Linked DNA regions of Homo sapiens: region 1 is linked to region 2. Evidence: promoter capture Hi-C in 16 types of primary human blood cells and fetal thymus (Javierre and others, 2016). All regions are on one chromosome and are shown on one strand. The core of a region is centred on a gene start or on the middle of the fragment in contact, and the rest is flanking DNA. Distances in the headings are between cores, read along the strand shown. Region 1 has its middle 18 kb from the start of TMEM14A. Region 2 holds the start of IL17A (interleukin 17A).

What was found. Contacts are between HindIII fragments. The CHiCAGO score rates a contact against its expected background, and 5 or more counts as called.
Region 1: a fragment that was not itself captured here is called in contact with the fragment with the promoter of IL17A in region 2 in 3 of 17 cell types (naive CD4 T cells, naive CD8 T cells and total CD8 T cells); the score reaches 6.6 in naive CD4 T cells.

Annotation. Positions count from the first base shown.
Region 1 is chr6:52,651,229-52,654,228 of GRCh38, forward strand. No RefSeq gene overlaps it. Among named protein-coding and RNA genes, the nearest start is that of TMEM14A, 18 kb to the right of the region's middle. The HindIII fragment of the contact is 3,016 bases long and covers 95-3,000 here.
Region 2 is chr6:52,184,958-52,187,745 of GRCh38, forward strand. It overlaps IL17A (interleukin 17A), which reads left to right and starts at 1,418. Exons shown (of 3, transcript NM_002190.3): 1 at 1,418-1,501; 2 at 2,646-2,788. The coding sequence starts at 1,475. The HindIII fragment of the contact is 1,880 bases long and covers 1-1,631 here.

The DNA.
Region 1 (3,000 bases), core at 353-2,852, 470 kb after region 2:
CCGCTAGCCATCATAAAAACAAGCCAGTACCCTTTGTTGGCTCTCTCAAGCCATTTTCAGATCAACTTGGGGACTCTTTCTGCTTTCCCCAGAAAGCTTCATCATGTGAGTGATAAGCCTCTTCTTCCCCTCTTGTTGCATGTGTGGCATCATTGATCTCAATATCCAAACTAAATTTTGTTTTGGGGAGGGGCCCATTTCATTTTGGTTGAGTGACCACAACAACCCCAGACAAGGGCCCAGTTATGGGAAATGCAGAGCAGATTAGGCTCAAAAAGGGACTTTTAGGCTTTAGGGAACCAGAATGTACCAGGGAGATCTCAGAGAGGAGAGAGCTGGGAAAGTGACCCCATGAAGTTGTTTTAAAAACTTGAGAGTGGGTGCAGTGGCTCACACCTGTAATCTCAGCACTTCAGGAGGCTGAGTAGGGAGGATCCCTTGAGTCTAGGAGCTCGATACTAGCCTAGACAACATAGTGAGACCCTGTGCCTACAAAAAAAAATTAAAATTAGCTGGGCATCGTGGTGTACATCTGTAGTCCCAGCTACTTGAGAGGCTGAGGTGGGAGGACTGCTTGAGTTCAGGAGTTCCAGGTTGCAGTGAGCTATGATCATGACATTGCACTCCAGCCGGGGTGAGACAGCAAGGCCCTGTCTCAGAAAAAGAAAAGACAAGGAAGAAAGAAAGAAAGAGAGAGAGAAAAAGAAAGAAAGAAAAAGAAAGAAGGAAAGAAAGAAAGAGAAAAAAGAAAAAGAAAGAAAAAGAAAGAAAGAAAAGAAAGAAAGAAAAAGAAAGAAAGAAAGAAAGAAAGAAAGAAAGAAAGAAAGAAAGAAAGAAAGAAAGAAAAGAAAAGAAAAGAAAGAAAGAAAAGAAAGAAAGAACAAACTTCGGCTTATTCCCAAATGGTGCATACATAGATCTGACCATGAAAAGCGTATCTTTAAACTTTGAGAACTGAACTATGGGAGAGACCATTACCCATGTGCCAGACTGGCCACTAGGTGGCATATACATCAGCTGGATCTGCATTGCACTGCAAAGCCTTTGCAAACAGAACTGACATTGAAGCTGCAACCCACAGAAGGTTGGTCGGAACTTGGAGCTTGAAATCAACTGGTTTGACTGATGGCTAAAGCAAAAATGTCAACATTCCATCTGATTTAAATAACACCAAGAGTCTCACAAGCTAATATTCAAAATGTCCAGGATATGATCCAAAGTTATTCAGCATACAAAGAACCAAGAAAATATCAATTTACATGTGTTAAAATTCACAAACTGTATACCAAAAAAGTCAGTTTTACTGTATGTTAATTTAAAAAATGATGCCATTTCCTTGCAGTGAGTACACAATCTAGTTAGGGAGATAGAATCATAAATGAATAACGACATGATGTTAAATACCCTATGATGATTTAAAACAAAAACATGGATAGGATAATGCGGGAGCACAGAGGGATACCTAGCCCAGTCTGGGGAGTGGAGATCAGGAGGTTGAGATTAGTTTTCAAGAAGAACAGATGTTTTAATTGATTCTGAAAGAACAAGTAGAAGAAGCTAGGTAAAGTGGCAGAAGGTATTCACTCCTAAATAAGGGGCAGTCTGAGCAAAGATATCAAGAAAAGTAGAGGTGGGAAGTATAAACGGTTCTATTTTATTGGGGTATTAGCTGACAGGCAGAGAGTGGCAGAAAAGATGGTGGATTTCCCAGGACCAGGTCATGGAAGGCTTCAAATACCATCTTATACCACATTTAACCCTATTAGAAATCCTATTGGGAATAAATTCTTAGTTTTGTCAACATTAACACGATGGTCACAGCAAAATCATGGCATCCCTGTGGGCCTTGATCTCTTGTGGCAGAAACTATTGGTATACACCAGGGTCTGTTTGGTCTTCCCTGTTTTGCAGCTTCCCTTGCAATGAGGTTGGCTGTGTGATCAATCCTGCTTATGGATGTGAGGGAAAGTGCTGCATGCCATGCTCTGGGTTTGGATGTTAAGTATCCAGGGTGCCTTTCCAAAAATCTGTTTCCCTTTCACATTGACCTTAGAGGCCATGTGTTGAAGAGCCATCAGACAAGATGGAAGGAACCTGGATCACTGAGTCATCACTTGACTGACCAGGAACATCTATGTGCAATTGCACAAGTGAGCAATAAACTATCCTCCTGTTAAACCACTGAGATTTCATACTTTGTTTTTTAATACATTATAGCCCAGCTTATTTGACTAACAGTTTCTCCATCTCTTTATCAAGAGCATGAATAGCCTTCCTCCAAAGTCTTTCCCAGCTCCATAAATCCAACTTATTCTAAGGAGGCCCTCTCCAGTCAGCTGGCTCCTTCCTGGTGCCTTGCTCAGGCTTCTTGGGATCTGTCCTGCCTATGTTCTTCCTCTCCAGGATAGTTCTATATCTTACCTTGGAGAAGGATCATGACACCAGAGGCACTCAGGATTGGATAGATCCTCAAAGCTCACCTAGTCTACCTTACTTTGTAGTGCCTGAGTCACCTCTGCAACATCCCTGCCAAGTGGTGGTCCAGGGTCTGGTTATTGAAAACCTCCAGTACCCGGAAACTCATTGCTTCGCCATATAAAAGTTCCTTCTTTCTCTACATTCTAAAAAGCACACTGCACTGCCCATAATGACTAACCCCCGTGGACTGCACCTAAGTTCTCCCTATTTTATTTTTTAAATGAATAAGTAGGGACTCCATTTAAATGAATGAATAGTAATTGCACTTGAGATATCTGAGCCTTTTTCTGACCTCTTCCTATTATGGTGACATTTTTTTTTCTTTACACAATGGCTGTGTCTTTGATGAATTTGTGTAGCCTGTATATGAGTTCAGAAATTATCCTTATGTCCATCAACTCCATGTGCCCTCTAGCAGAGAGCCCTTTCTTTGAGAAGATCTTGTCTGTAATGTCAAGGACAAAGTCTGATAATAAGTCATAGCTGTCCTGCAGTTCAAATCTTTGGAATCTTTAAGTCTCT
Region 2 (2,788 bases), core at 168-2,667:
ATCAGCCAGGGTTTATCTGGCCAGGAAAGAGAAGCCCCTTCAGGCATTTGCAACAGAGGGAGTTTAAGTCAGAGAACTAGTCACCCTGGTAGTTGAGATTGCCATCAGCAAGAAGCTGTTACCATTTGAAGGCTGCAGGGACAAAGGGAGTGAGCAGTCCTCTGGGAGACTGAGGAAGGAAGCTCCTGGCTTCTCCCCACTTTCCACTTTCCACTTCCCACTTTTACTCATCTGTCCTCCAATTCCCTTTTGGCTGAGCCTAGCTGAAACCCAGCTGACAGGGGAGTTTGAGCAAGCAGCCTCCAGGGTCAGCCCTCTGAGTTACAGGTAGAGCAGGACAGGGAGGAATGGATCTCAGGACAAACAGGTTCAGGATCCGGCAAACTAATTTTACACTCCAGCCATTGAGTTGGAACTACTGGCCAGCCTCCCCCCGAGTTAGCATGTAGAATATGGGATACCAGCTGAGTGCCTGAGAGTTATCATTCACCTCAGTGGGGGTAGGGGCGGAGAAGGGTGACATATAGCCAGCCACATCTATATCCACTGGCCCTTCCTTGTCCTAGTCCTCTGTATTCCTGAGAAGGAACTATTCTCAAGGACCTGAGTCCAAGTTCATCTTACTTAGAGTACAGAGAAAAGAACCGCTAACTCCTTCTCTCTTTCCCCCATCATGTCTCCTCTCCTTTCTAGTTCTCATCACTCTCTACTCCCCCCTGCCCCCCTTTTCTCCATCTCCATCACCTTTGTCCAGTCTCTATCCCCATTTTCAATTCCTTCCTCAAAACACCAAGTTGCTTGGTAGCATGCAGGGTTGGAACATGCCTTTAACAGAAAATCTCGTGTCTCTTGAACCTAGTTATTTATTCCTTGAGCAGAGTAGATATTCAACAAAAGAATTGTTAAATTCAATTAAATAGGATATATCTTATTATTAAATATTTTTTTCATTTTTTGTTTACTTATATGATGGGAACTTGAGTAGTTTCCGGAATTGTCTCCACAACACCTGGCCAAGGAATCTGTGAGGAAAAGAAAGATCAAATGGAAAATCAAGGTACATGACACCAGAAGACCTACATGTTACTTCAAACTTTTTCTTCCTCATGAACCATTAAAATAGAGCATAACTCTTCTGGCAGCTGTACATATGTTCATAAATACATGATATTGACCCATAGCATAGCAGCTCTGCTCAGCTTCTAACAAGTAAGAATGAAAAGAGGACATGGTCTTTAGGAACATGAATTTCTGCCCTTCCCATTTTCCTTCAGAAGGAGAGATTCTTCTATGACCTCATTGGGGGCGGAAATTTTAACCAAAATGGTGTCACCCCTGAACCCACTGCGACACGCCACGTAAGTGACCACAGAAGGAGAAAAGCCCTATAAAAAGAGAGACGATAGCGCTACATTTTGTCCATCTCATAGCAGGCACAAACTCATCCATCCCCAGTTGATTGGAAGAAACAACGATGACTCCTGGGAAGACCTCATTGGTGGTGAGTCCTGCACTAACGTGCGATGCTCTTGCTGATTTGGACCAGATAGTATTTCTGGACCGTGGGCATGAAACGCTGGGTTCTGACTATGGAGATCCAGGAATACTGTATATGTAGGATAGGAAATGAAAGCTTTGGTAGGTATTTAAGTCATTGTGCAGCATTTTCAAGAACTGATACACAGCAGTTTGAAAGATAAGATTAAAACTGAAAGATAGCTATATTGGGGCTAAACCACACAAGAAGTGTCACATGATGCTGTGCAGTAAGAAAGAAAATTTATTGAAAGTCTGTTTTTCTGAGTACAAAGGATTTAATATAATTCTCCCACGGCATTTTTCTTTAAAATGGGTCACTATCCTTGAGATTTTGAAAGCCGTAGCAGCAACAACCTTTGTTTCCATTATCTCGTACCATATTCTCAGTACATTGAAACTATGTATTCTAACTAAACATAGGTATAACTGTGTTTTAGAATAAGTGGGGTTTATATTTTTTAAATATTTAACTTCAAGTATCTTTTTTGAAATCTGATTTTATTACAGAATCAATACATGTTAAATTTAGAACAACTGGAAAATATACCTAAGAAAACATGAAGGAGATCGAGTTTTTAGTTGGATGCCTGCCAGTAGCACCAACAGCACTTCTAGCATGAATATTGATACCACATAGATTTTCTATAGCTCTTTCTTCCAATGTGAATGTTTGACTTCACGATGAGTTTCACAGAATATGGGACTGAGAACAATGGTGCAGGAGGATATTTCTACCTAGAAAATCAAGGTTATTATTCCTTCCCAGACCTGACAATGATGCATGTGCTGATAGGCTAATGACATGCCATGACTTGACATTTTTATTAAAATTATTGCCAACCAATGGATAACATGTCTTTCCTAAGTCAAAAGGAGAATGTTGAAACTAGTTTTTTTAAAAAAATTTTAAAGCCATGGTGTTAACATTATGTTGGTCATCTACCTAGATTTTTCTCTAGCTGATCTGAAAAATGTAGTATAGATTGTCCTGGAACATTGTGTGTTCTCTATGATTAGCAATGCATCATCATCACAATTAATTTGTCAAAAAGAACCACATAGTAATCTAATCTCCAACCTCTCTCTCCTTTCCCATTCAATTCTAGTCACTGCTACTGCTGCTGAGCCTGGAGGCCATAGTGAAGGCAGGAATCACAATCCCACGAAATCCAGGATGCCCAAATTCTGAGGACAAGAACTTCCCCCGGACTGTGATGGTCAACCTGAACATCCATAACCGGAATACCAA